2 separate regions of the Homo sapiens genome follow, and region 1 is linked to region 2. The links are contacts of gene promoters, found by promoter capture Hi-C in human tissues and cell types (Jung and others, 2019). All regions are on one chromosome and are shown on one strand. Each heading gives the region's core, a stretch centred on a gene start or on the middle of the fragment in contact. The rest is flanking DNA. Distances are from core to core; before and after follow the strand shown. Region 1 overlaps OR9Q1 (olfactory receptor family 9 subfamily Q member 1). Region 2 holds the start of OR9I1 (olfactory receptor family 9 subfamily I member 1).

The links. Contacts are between HindIII fragments. The study calls those that stand out against the background at their distance.
Region 1: a contact is called between a fragment that was not itself captured here and the fragment with the promoter of OR9I1 in region 2, in 3 of the 25 tissues and cell types used here (neural progenitor cells, ovary and stomach).

The regions. Positions count from the first base shown.
Region 1 is chr11:58,157,644-58,164,641 of GRCh38, forward strand. The region is part of intron 2 of OR9Q1 (olfactory receptor family 9 subfamily Q member 1); the gene reads left to right. Among named protein-coding and RNA genes, the nearest start is that of OR9Q2, 28 kb to the right of the region's middle. The HindIII fragment of the contact is 7,939 bases long and covers 1,165-6,998 here.
Region 2 is chr11:58,121,108-58,127,817 of GRCh38, forward strand. It overlaps OR9I1 (olfactory receptor family 9 subfamily I member 1), which reads right to left and starts at 4,423. Exons shown (of 3, transcript NM_001005211.2): 1 at 4,167-4,423; 2 at 3,331-3,532. All of the region lies in intron 2 of OR9Q1 (olfactory receptor family 9 subfamily Q member 1), which reads left to right. The HindIII fragment of the contact is 9,927 bases long and covers 1-6,243 here.

The sequences.
Region 1 (6,998 bases), core at 3,884-6,383, 37 kb after region 2:
TAAGTTCTGTTTGATGACCTGTAAGCCAAGTGAGGATAGCCCATCCTGTTCAGAAAGAACTGTATATTGCTGTTTCAATGACTAGAAGCCTCTACCAGCAGGTCCTTTCCTAATGAGGCTTGAAATACATATGGAATGTTTTTAAAGGACTCTGAGAACTTCATTTCCTGAAAACTGGAGAAGCAGACGTGAGCAGGGAGGTGCATTAGCTGATGCTTTTCTGAGCACTTCAGCTAAATGGCAGATGAGACTTTCTCCCACTCCTTAGGCTTCACTCCTTATTTGACACCTTCTCAGGCTCTCTTAGTCAGGGATTGTTGGCTATGGCAAATAGAAATCTATTCAAACTAGCTCAGCAGAGTGAGAGTTTTTTTGTAAAGCTAAAGTAGTCAATTTCAAGGATAAGGAAGCTGAACGGCTGTGAGGCCTCATGGGAACTAGACTCCAGGAGCTACTGGGAACCAAAGCTTCATTCTCATGTCTCTGGGGTATCAGGGTCCAACTCAGCTCTGCTTCACTCTGATTCTTTCCGTCCTTCTTTAAACTAACTTTCTCTGTTTCTATGGTGCCTCAACATGGCCACTAGCCCACAAACATACATAAGTAGTCAGTTCAAGTTCTCACCACCAGACTGACCATGGTACTTGTGTTTTTTGGTTAAAATTCTCCAGAGAATAAACTTGGGTCAACAGGCCAGCCACACTCTTGGGCAGATTTTCCACTGTACATTCAAATAAGGTCTGGGTCATGTGATATAAACATAGCCGCCTAGGTCTGCTTTTTTTTTTTTTTTTTTTTAACATATTTTTCATAGGAAGAGTTTTAAAAGAAGTGGGCTATTAGTCCTAATCATGTCTATTACACAGCAAGAGTCCAGGTCCTTGCTATATCACATATCTTTGAAGAGACTACCAATCCTTACCATAAGTCTCTTGAATGCCTCTACTTTCAGCAGTGGATACATCATAGCCAAAGGAAAGAAATGGGAACCTTATGACCAAGGTGGTTCCATCTTCCAGGCCATAGTTCACTGAAACAGGAGAGGCCACCTGACTCAAGATGGGCTAGTTTGAGACCCTTCTGCAGGAATTTGGAATTGGAACTATGAAAGACTGGTGTTTCTAAGGGGCTGGACTTGTACTATATACAATTGGGAACTGTGATTAGCCACATTCTGTCATGTGGACTGGGTTGCAAAGGAATCAATTCTTCAGGCATAGAGAAATATGAGGCTAATGTGCAGAGAGAAGCAGAAATGAGATATGAGGAAGGAACACTCCCTAGGTTCCTGATAGCTCTTCACAAATAAGTAGTGCTTTCTTAACTTGGCTGCATTTTTGCCAGTGGGTTATGTGAGATTCTTTCCAGTCCTTACAATAAGTCCCTTTTAAACATCTTACAGTCACTTGAGTTGGCTTCTGATACTTGCATCCAAATATCTTAACTAATATAAAAATCAGATGTATCAGGACTAACGTGTAAAATAAGACCTTCAGAAAAAAAAATGTGTTGTCATCTGAGACAATGATGGGAACAGTGGGGACTTCCCCGTCCTGAAACTGTCTCTTGGTATGTGCTGGCAAATAAATTGGTGAACTACCATCACCTGTTATTATCTGAGACTCAGATCACATACCTCCAGAAATGGAGATGTTAGGGGTCTTGGCTAAATATCAGGATATTAAGAGTATTGTTGCTTCTTGCAGGGTTTTGTAGAGAGCAACTAAATAGAAACAAATTCTTGTCTAGGACTTCCTCGTATGGGAAGATACAGAAGCCACCTAGCATCAGCTTACAGAATTACAGAAGTTAAAAAAAAAAACAGTCATTAGATTGATGGTAGCTTGGAGGGATTGAGAAAGCTTTAACAGATCTCACTCTTCCTGCAGGCAGCCAACCATGAGTCAATTCATGAAGTCCAATTCAGGGACTTTGAATTTTATTCAAAAGGACATTGGCAGCACAGGGAAAGAATATTTTGGCTTTGTGTGAAGAATTGACAAAAGAGAATTTGAAAGTATAACAGACAGACAAGTTTGAAAGTAATTGCCACAGTCTAAAACAATTTGATAGTCATCTGGTCTAGAATGATAGCAGTGAAGATGGAGGTCAGGTTCAAAATATTTTCTGGAGATAGATTTGAAAGGATTTACAGATGCATAGTGTAGCCCACTTAATTTTTAAAAGATACTCATACCAAATTACATCCCATCCAATGTTCTCTTCCTGCAATAAGATATTGATAGATGCCTCCGTCAAGAGATGGGGTCTATGATCTTTTCTCTTGAAACTGAGCAGATCTTAATAACTAGTTCAACCAGTAAAATGTTGCAGAAATGATGCTCTGTGACTGCTGAGGCTGGGCCATGAAAGGCAACATGGCTTCTGCCTGGCTCTCACTTTCACTTGGAATGTTTGCTTGTAGAACTCAGCCACCATTTTGTGAGGAAGCCTAGACTACATGAAGAGGCCATGTGTGGAGTGTTATGGTCAACAGCTCTGCTAGCCCCTCAGCTGTAGGCAGCACCAACTTTTAGACATGTGATTAAATGATCCTTCAGTTAATTCAACTTTCAATCCTTGGATATTTCAGTTGAGGCCTTGACATGTCCTAACTGAAATCCTGGATCTGAGAACCCATGAGTGATAATAAATGATTTTTGCAATTTTAAGCCACTAAGATTTGAGATAATTTATTACGAAGTGATAGATAACTACAGATTGAATGTGGGCTATAGGAGGAAAAAGTAAGTCTAAGATGATTCCAAGAATTTTGATCTGAATGAGTAGAATATTTGTTGTTGTTGTTGTTGTTGTTGTTGTTGTTGTTGTTAGAGGTAGAGTCTTGCTCTGTCACCCAGGCTGGAGTACAGTGGCATGATCATAGCTCACTGTAACCTCAAACTCCTGGGCTCAAGCCATTCTCTTGTCTCAGCCTCCCAAATTGCTAGGACCATAGTCATGTGCCACCATGCCTGGCTAATTTCAAAAAAAGATTTCTTGTTTTTGGTAGAGATGGGGTCTTGCTACATTGTCCAGCCTGATATATATATTTTTAAAGTGAAAACACGAGTTCTTCTTTGAATATGTGAAGTTTGAGATAGCTTTCCCTAGCACTCTCTGCTTTATCCACACTGGCCTTCTTGGTATCACTGAAATGTAGCAAGTTCACGCCCACCATAGTCTACAATAATGAAATCCTCAACAACCATTTTGTAATATATGACAGCGACTTCATGGTCACAAGTAGACCGAACAAGAGATTTCACTTAACTTAATCAAGCCAACTAGAGTAATCTCCTGGGAACTTGGAAGTGAATGGAGAGAGTTAAGAGTTCTAATTGAATACCCTTTATTTCTTTCTCTTGCCTGATTGCCCTGGCCAGAACTTCCAACTCTATGTTGAATAGGGGACACAGGGCGGGGAACATCACACACTGGGGGCCTGTCTGGGGTCGGGGGCTGGGGGAGGGATAGCATTAGGAGGAATACCTACTGTAAATGACGAGTTGATGGTGCAGCAAACCAACATGGCACATGTATACCTATGTAACAAACCTGCATGTTGTGCACATGTACCCTAGAACGTAAAGTATAAAAAAAAAAAAAAAAGAAAAGAGTTATATATGTGACTGAACCAAAAACATTTAAACTTGGGAACTGTGGGCTTAAATGTTCTACAAGGCAGAGTAGGTAGAAGGCTCTGATCTTCAGTGACAGAAAGAGACAGAGAGAGAGAGAAGAATGAGGCAATGGCGTAATAGATGGACAGAAAATACTGCCTGAATTCTCACGGGATTTCCAGTGGGAAATCTTCAGCCCAGCTGTAATCGTGGCTTGGCTTCTGGATACACATATCCTTATAATAAATTTCCTTTTGTTTTTGTTTTGCTCAGGCTTATTCTGTTTTTTTTTTTTTAGACAGAGCCTTACTCTGTCACCCAGGCTGGAGTGCAATGGCACTGTCTAGGCTCACTGCAACCTCTGCCTTCTGGGCTTAAGCGATTCTCCTGCATCAGCCTCCCAAGTAGCTAGGAGTACAGGTGCCTGGCTAATTTTTGTATTTTTAGTAGAGATGGGGTTTCGCTCTGTTAGCCAGGCTGGTCTCGAACTCCCGGCCTCAGGTGATCCTCCCACCTGGGTCTCCCAAAGTGCTGGGATTACAGGCGTGAGCCACCGCACCCGGCCCTCTGGTTGATTTTTGTTACTTGAAACTAGAGAGTCCAAACTGTTATATCCAATTAATCAGAACCTCCTTGTTTCTCCAGAAAGCAACAGCAAGCTCAAGGTTCCTCAAAATAGCATTGCTCAGAGCTTTCCTCGCCTCCTTAAAGCATGTATAGAGCTCCACGTAGGTGCTAATTGGCAACTGGATACTGATCACACTGACTTGGTTAAGGTGGCTAAATAGCTTACTCATGCCATTCCTGTGTGGAACCTTTTGATTTATATTTTAGAGAAACAAGAAAACAAAGGAGTTCTTGAAGAAGGTTCCTAACAGTTACACTCACCTTCTTTGTAACTGTGTAACATGCTAACATACCATTATTGTCATTCATTACGAGTAACAAGAAGTCATTATAAGTAAAAATGTCCTAACTTCTCTGAGAAAATCACCTTTCATCTTTTGGAAATGTTACGTTTTGTTTGAATGTATTATCTGTAATCATACATGGAAGGAGACTCGCTCTAATAATGGGTTTTCACAGTGTTGAAACTCAGGCTTTCTAACTTGCAACAGTAGCAAGGTTGTGGTTAATGAATCCATGCTGCTAAAATTGTTTCAGAGCGAGGAATAGGAGGGAGCCTTGTATTGGTGAAGCTGTCTATGCCACGCTATGGTAGTTGGAAGAAAACCTTTCTGGGTCTTTGGAAAAGGTAGGGCACTAAGGGAAGGGTGATTTTATTTTCTGACGCTGTAAAGAGCAGCAAAGGCAGAGGAGTGAGAACAATGTTCACTACAGTACCAGCTGGTAATACTAAGAAGGTTATTTAATACCTTCTTTCTGAAAAAATGTGACATAAGAAAAATGAAATAATAATTCATATATTTTGAGTGCTTCCTATATGCCAGGTGAGAGACTAATGACATCTCTGTAAAGTTGGTGGGTGTCAGGTGAGTGACCTTGGGTAACCTTCATCCCTCCTACCCCATGTCTTTGTTACTGTTTCAGCAGAATGGGGAGAATCACATATTCTCGGATCTTCGCAGAGCTCTTCTGAGGACAAAATGGAAGGGACATTGTTCTGAAAGGTCAAAGGTATCCTGTAAATATAAGAGCTTAGCAAGTTTTCTTTCTTTGTCTCTTTCTCTAGTAAGAAAGATGGGGTGGAAAGAAAGTGAGAGAGAAGCTTTGTTTGGAATTTACAGAGGGGTGAATCAGATAGGCAATAAATACAATAAGTACATCATATGTTATGTTAGAAGGTGACAATTCCTATGGTGAAAATGAAGCCAGGGTCAGAAGAATAGGGAATGTGCAATTTTAAGTATCTTGCTCAAATTTTAATTTTAAGGTTCAGCTCAAATGCCACTTCCTTGGAAATCATCTCCCCTGAATTTTATCCTGGTATGGGAATGATTGATTACATATATGGCTTACCTCTAACAGTAAAGTATAAAATTTTTGAAGGCAGGAAATATGTGTGTGTATCTGTGTGTGTATAAATTTCAGCCCTGGTCTCTAGACCACCTTTCTTAATCAAAAATGAGAAATGATTGAATGTGCAGATGGTCCCCACCTGTCCCCTTCCTGGCTCCACCTTTGTCAAAGGAGTTTCCTCCTGACCTTGCTCTCTTCCTTTTTCTTGTCTGGACATTTTGAGACTCATAAAAAATGCATGTGCAGATGCTAAGAATAATTACCACAATTTCTCAGCTGCAGAGAGCTGGTAAAGGTCATGCCAACTTGCTGTCTGTGCCAGTTGCTTCTCTGGGCAGTGCACTTGTCCTAGTTATTTTTCCCTAAGGTTTTCTTTGTGTTAAAGATTAAAGGACAAACTTGATGAAGTGCCTGATTCCAGGGAGGGCAAACTAGAGGCTACAATGGGCCTTGCCTTTTCCTAGGTGGATCAGTTTCCATTCTACCTATTCTAGGTAAATAGCTGGGCAGGGGGCCGTTCTCCCAGGACACAGCTGGCGAGGGTGGCAGAGCCTGTGATTCATGACATTATTCTGACTGAGGAAACTGGACCTTGGAAGATAAATGATTCCTCATGGGACAAGTCAGAACTAGAATTCAGGCTCCCTTAACCATTCTTAGCGATGGCCCAACTGGGTGTACAGCTTTTAGAAATGGAGATTGAAGAGAAACCTTCTCTTTTCCTACATGAAAGGGGCTATTTGCATATAAATAATCCCAATATCAGCAGTAATCTCTCCTTGGAGACCCACACTGGCCACGGATTGGCTATGACAGTGTTGGGGCAAAACAAACTAGTAGAGTCTTACGCTGGAGCCGGAGCCTGCAGACAGAGGATATTCCCCCACCTTGTCTCGGCTTGCAGGGGTTGGGGGGATGCGCATGTAGGGATTTATGGGAAGGGAAAGAGGAGGAGAAGAGAATGATAAAATTAAATCCTTCCACGTTCCTGTCTTTAGGTGGCCAAATTATGATTATTTCATATTGCTTTGAGGAGTTAATAAGAAAAACGGATGATGATATGGAAGGCCAGAGTGATAAGAGACTTACCTGGGACCACATAGCTAGTCAAGGATGGTGGTGGGGATGGGGCAGGCGGTGGGAATGAAGAACCACGTGTCTGGTTGCCCATGCGGTGCTCTTTTTCTATATCCTCACCTTAAGATTACAATCAGTGAAAGAGCAGGGGTCATGAGCAGACAGAGAACAATGAACAAGGAGGTAAAGAGATTCTTCAGGGAAAGGTGAGATGGGTTTCAGGTGAGGAAACTGATCAGGTTCACCTGGTCCACACCCATCCCAATGCTGCCAAAGCAAACCTTCTTTACTTGTCATGTGCACAGTGACTGTTTCACA
Region 2 (6,710 bases), core at 3,173-5,672:
TCATTAAACTTCTGCTTCTGGGAGAATCTTTCAAACATCAAGTCAAATAAATGCTCCTTTCTTTTGATCTAACAAATTGGTTAAAATAATTATGTTTAGTTTGCTTTATATTTGAGTCATGGAAATTTTGCATTTCCTAAGATTTCCTGTTGCCATATGGTACAGATTTGAGTCACCTCGTAATACTGCATAATACCATGTTCCAAGTCCATCCAGGATACTCATTAAAATGCCTAAAGCCTTCCTTGGGAGAGTGTGCATGGAAGCCTAGGTTCCCATCTCTTTTTTTTCCCAAAGTCATCTCTACTCTCCCAGGACCTGCCAGAAACCTGGCAACAATCCTACTGGACAGGTGACATTAGTTTGTTTGTGTTTGAGAAGTGGAGATTGGAGAAATGAAACCATCCGTTGACCCACATGTAGAGGAGCCAGGATCCACAACCAAGTCTCCAGATTCCATTATCCTACACTGCTCCCCTTGAACCATTTGCCTGGCCTCCTTAATCTTACACCCCCAACTTCCTCAGGTTGGAATCTGCCAATTCAGAGTCCTTGAATCTAGAACTATGTTTGATGAAGCCATGAATATAGAAATTAGATTGTTAAGAAACTCTTTTCCTTGTAGCACAACTGGGAATTTTCTTTGCTGTGGCAACATGGGGATTGCTATTTTTGATAAAATCCATAGTAGTAAAAACTCATCATAATACCTCTTTCTACCTTCTTTCATACATTTTATATCCATAAATGTCTGTGATTGCCTCCACACCCCTGTAAAGTTGACTTGATTGATATTGTCATTATTTTGGCATTGAGACAACTGACAGAGGTTAATGACTTGTCCAAAAGTCAAATAATTAGCTATTTGCAGACTTGGGGATAACAGGCAGGTCCTCTGGCTTCCATGGGATCCCTTTTTTTACTTCTCTTTCACCTAAGGTCTAATTCCACTGGGACCTGCCAGGAAGAGGTTTTGAACTTGTGATGAGGCCCCATCTCTAGAATCATTGTGACTGCTTTATTCACTACATGGGTAGAGAGAGACAAGCAGCACACACTTTCATGAAAGGGCTCATGGTAGCTGTTCTTGGGTCTGGAGCTTACTTCAGCTCTAATCAGGGTCCTAGTGGGAGAGAGACATTGACAGATCACGTCAAACATGTCCCAGGGCTATTCCATCCACCTTGCTCCAGCAGCAGGGTCTGGGGACGAGTCAGCTTCTTTGGAAGGCCTTCATGGTATGGTTCAAGCTCTGTGGTTGTCACCTCTATGACAGGCACTCACTAGCTGAGTAAACTTCAAACGTTTATTTTCCCTTCAACATGGACTTCGCTTTCTATTCTATGAAATGGCAGAGCTAGGTTATATGACCACTGAATCTTTTGTTTCTCACAATCCATGATTTATATGTCTAGGTATTTAGGCTCTGTATCTACTAAATACTGAGTATATAAAGCAATGCAGGCACTATTTCAAGTGATTTATAGTTACTTAAACATAATATTTTGGGGCCTTAGGTAGAAAATTGAATGGCCTTTACTCCTCAGTTCCTGATAAACCATCATCATTGGTCAGGGCAAGGCTCTTCTTCATTTTATTTTATTTTATTATTTTTGTTAGTCCTGCCTCATTCTTACTCCTTCCCCTGTTCCTCTTAAGTGTGCACTCCAGTGTATTCAAAATACATATCCTTCTATGTTTATTCTTTTCATATTTATTTAGAAATATATGTATATTAAAATATAGTGGCTGTGGTGTGTTTTAAAATTTGTGTACATGATATTGTGACATAAATCTCATTTTTTAGCATACACCGTATTTTTGTGATTTGTTTATGTAATTGTGGTAAATTTTGTTTTTTTTTTCGGATTTTGTTATGGTCTTGCTTGGTATGCTTATAACATATTTTACTTATCAATTCTACTAGAGACTGTGAGTGCTTTGCATATATTATTTAATTCTGAAAGCAGCCCTTTAAGCAGATATTATGACCTTATTTTTACCAATGAGGAATTTAAATCTTTGGGAGATTAATTTGTCTAAAATTACCTCCAAGTGAAAGTAGAAGCAGAAGAGTTAGTTGATGGCAAATCCTCTGCTTTCAGCTATAAATTTGTTTTGTTGTCTCCCTCCATTTTCCTATATCTTTATAATCTATGGAAACAAAGAAATCTCCCTGCAGTTAATCAGAGCTTTTTTACCTTCAAATCATGAGATAACTTGGTTAATTTCAACACCTTTCTCAGTATCTACTTCTGAAATTGTTGTAGGTCATATTACATCTATCTCATGGCTAATTCCTGGGGGTCTCTCTGATTAGAGACACAATTGTTCAAGGCTCCTGACCAGAGATTAGGTGGCAGATTGTTGGGGTGCAGATGCAATCACACTGAGTTTGTGGCACATGCATGCAAGGCCTGTTTCATACATTAGCTCTAGTCCTTCCTGAAGCCCTCCAAGTTGGGTATAGCTATGACTATTTTATGGATGAACAAAGCAGAGTTCAGAGAAGTTAAGAAGGTTGTCCAACTTATTATACACCTAGGAAGGAACAGAACAGACATTTGAACCTAGGACATTCTAATTCCAAATTCTGTATTCTTTCCATCTTATCATGTTCTCTTTTTAGGGCATGAGAAAGACCCTTTATGCAGATCCAAGCCCCAAACCTTTAAAATCAAAGCGCCTCTCTAAAACCATTAGGCAAATACTCAACTTCTGTGGGCATCAAGTATAAAGATTGATGTTGGAGTTCTTTGTGGTCCATGTTTTTTCTTCTTTTTCTTTCTTTATAACTTGAGAGAGACTTAGTTGGACCATATCCCTCTTGATATACCCTTGGAAAACTGCTCAACCAATTGGAACCTCAATTTTTTCAATAATAAAATGAGAATATAGTAACGATTCTTGAAATAGAATGGATGTTTATCTAATATGGTAGAGCTTGCTTATTTTTCAGACAGGCAATTTCCAAAATATTTCCCAGAGGGAAAAATTTTAGGAGCAGACTGGTGACACCCAGTTTTGTGTGATCTTGTTTAAGAAGGAGATTGGGGTACCATCAGCTTGGGTGAGGCCAAGAGTAGAGAGAAACAACCAACTCCCCGAACCCAGGACAGTTTATGAAAGGGAAAGCAACGGTTTATGGCCAGTGACTCTTTTAAGAAAGCCTAGGAACATTTATAGGTTGATATTATTACTTGTGATATATTTAAATTATAATATGTGACATAAAAGAATATGTGACCTCTGGAGGGGATAGGGAAAAAGACTCCTCTAATTCAGGAGGAACCCTTTACAGAAGAGATGGTCCCTAACACTTGTACTTACTTTAACTTGGGATGTTCTCCATACTCTTCTTCATTTTCCTCCAAAGATTGAGTCCCTTGGGGAGGGTGAAGGAGCTCAACAAAGTTAATGTTTCTCACCTTACTGAAATCAGTGTCTTGAAATATTGTTGTTAACATTTGCTGAGCTCTTGCTCCAAGTCAGGTAGATGCTAAGCACTTTAAAGGCTTTTATTTCCTTTCAACTTGACAATAACATAATGAGAGAGAAATATTTTATTTTACAGATGAGGAAATGAAGGTTTAGAGACATTAGATGTTTTGCTTGAGGTTTCACAGCTAGAAAGAAAATATGTTTAAATTCTAACCCTGGTTCTCTGACCCCAGAGTTGGAGTGTTGAATCAACACGCTGTGCTGCTTTTCCTAATCCTGGCAACCATTTATCGAACATCTTCTCTGCGCTGATCACAATACTATGCATTGTAGACACATTAGTTCATATAATTCATACAATGATCCTACAAAAAAGGTATTATTTTGTCCTGGAAGAGACTAGGACTCGGAATAGTTAAGTACCTTGTCCAAGGTCACATGACTAGTCAATGAAAAAGCCTGGAGTCTAATCCAGGTCTGTCTTATTCCAAAGCCAGAGTCCTAGTACATATGACTAATTCTACTCCAGCATAATTACAGAAAGTAGAGTCATTTACAGGAAAATATCTTGTCTAAGCTCTGCAGTCTAGTACCACGCCTCCCACATGAAACTATTTATATTTTCTGAAATCTACTTAGTGACACAAAAGCCCAAAGAGATTAAAGCTGTAGATTCCCCCCTTACCCACCGCCCCCCCCCCAAAAAAAAGCTGATCCAGTCTTACTTGTATATTTCACATAAGAGCTGAAATCCCAGTCTGGTCATGGTCCTATCAGATGACAACTTCTGATGACAAAGGCAAGATTCTCTGCCCAGTTACACCTTCTCTAGTTTGTGTGGACCTTACTTCAGAGCCAAGGTAATAATTAAGTCTTAATTACCTGGTGGAATAATTCAGTTGGATTTATCTTGGCCTTGTAGTCAAGCTAAGCTAAGGTTGTTTAAGCATTTTGTAGAAAGCAGCTAAGATTGCTCAAATAGACGTATGTAGCTGACTGACTTTAGGTTTTCTTCTTACTAAGCAAACCAGTGGGATATTTAAATTGCCTTTGGGGATAGTTTTATGGGAGGGATGCAGTGATCTCAGTGGTTTTCCTTGAATCATGAATCAGGACCTGGGACAGCCCCTGGGACTCCAGAGAATAGCCGGCCCGGTCAGGGAGACCACACTTCAGCAGAGGCTCATTATCTCAGCTTCTGCACACTTCTGAGAGAATAAAAACAAATCTTATGGGAGCTCATGAAAACTCGTAAGCCTTGTTTGTCTCAAAGCTCAACTGCAGACTCTGCTGGGAATGAACTTGGTTTTTCTTTGCCACTGGCTCACCATTCCCAAAGTTACTCAGTGGTAATATCAGGACTGGAACTCAGATCTTAGGACTCCTGGTAAAGTTCTCTTTACAACACACTCATCCTTAGTCCTGATGTCAAGTCCCATATCAGGGGCTGAAACCTGGCTGCATTGTCTGCTCAGAATTTCAAGGAAGAGTGATTATTGGCTCAGGAAGGTATGAGTCTGGTGTGGTCTAAACATACTTCATTCATGTCTATACTGAGGAGCTTGTCAGCTCACCTTCCTTAAAGATCTATTTCCAGGGTTTCCATGGTCAACTCTCTAACCACTCCAGCTCTTGTCTCTTCCCTCGTCTCTGAAACCCATGATCTCTTTGTTAGAACCACATAATTTGGCACTGAACTCCACTTGTCTTACAGTGTTCATAGTTATTCTTTAGTGAATAGTCTCATCTCCTCTGCTGGATTGTGGGTTCCTGGAGAACCTATCTTTCTTCCTACTAATAACTTGGTTCCTGATTCAGTAGAACCTCTCTGTGTCCTATAAGCTTTCATCAGCTTTTTATTGTAGGATCAGAACTTTTCCAGCAGAAGAAATCTCAAAGAGGCCATGTGCTCTGTTTGCTTCTAAGTAACATGGCTGGGATAAAAAACCTTTGAAAATTAGCAAGCATTCAGGCGAACTAGGGTGGTTTTCATAATTGCAGATGCCAGATGCCAGTTGATACAAGAATATATTACAAAGAAGGGTGGCAGCCACAGATCAGGACTCCTGGCAGTTAGCACAAGAAATTCTACCTTCCAATACATTTTTGGACAATATTTATTATTTCCTATAATTAAATATCTATTGAAATAACTGTGTGGTAAGAGTATATGTAGTGTATTCTAATACTTCCTGGAATGGTATAGAAGGTAGAGTGGTAATTGGGACAGGGTGAAGGAATATGCCAGTAATAAGAATATTCCATTCAACATCCCCTGGGGAACTTGTAGAATGGGGTGACTATACAGTAGATATTACCTTCCTTCCTTTTGACACATTGGGGGATCTAGAGTGCTTTGATGTATAACATAATCATTACTATTGTTATCTTTAATATTGTTATTGTTATTGTTAAGCATTTCACCAGAGTCTTGCTCTGTCGCCCAGGCTGGAGTGCAATGGCATGATCTTGGCTCACTGCAACTCCACTTCCCGGGTTCAAGCGATTCTCTCACCTCTGCCTCCCTAGTAGCTAGGACTACAGGCATGTGCCACCACGCCCAGCTTATTTTTGTAGTTTTAGTAGAGACGGAGTTTCACCATGTTGGCCAGGCTGGTCTTGAATTCCTGACCTCGAGTGATCTGCCCGCCTCGGCCTCCAGAAGTGCTGGGATTACAGGCATGAGCCACCGTGCCCGGCCTCACTCCAGAACTTCTGTTTGGACTTTTGGGAAGAGATGCATCTTAGGTTAGCTTCCTTAAAAAAAGACCCGGGACAGAATTTTGGGCAAGTGCCTCACTGAGGGAGTGCTTGAAGGAGAAACCTGTAAGGGAGTGAATGAAACAGGAAATAGCTAAGCAAAGATGTAGGATGTAGTTTCAGCTGGAGGCTAGCTTTGGCCTGATTCTTAGAGTAACTCTGGAATGTGAATTATGCCATGGGCCTAGTTCTGCCTCCAGACAAGGGATTTGGCTTTTTGCAGCCCACACCAACCATCCATTGACTGTGGGCTGCCTCCAAGTGGTGTGACTTCCCAGGCATTCTGGGAAAAGTGGATCCCTTAGCTAATGGCAATTCTCCAGAGAAGGAGAGCTGTGAGCTCTTAGCAGCCAATACTCATAGCAGCTGCAGGTGGGTGTACTGATCTGTTAACTGGGATACTTAAAGATGCTCTTTTTTCCTGATAGAATTTTGAGTGTTTATATCTGGGGCTTCTGATGCCACTGAATGAGTGAAAATAGCCCAGAGAGAAGTTAAGAGAGGAAGAA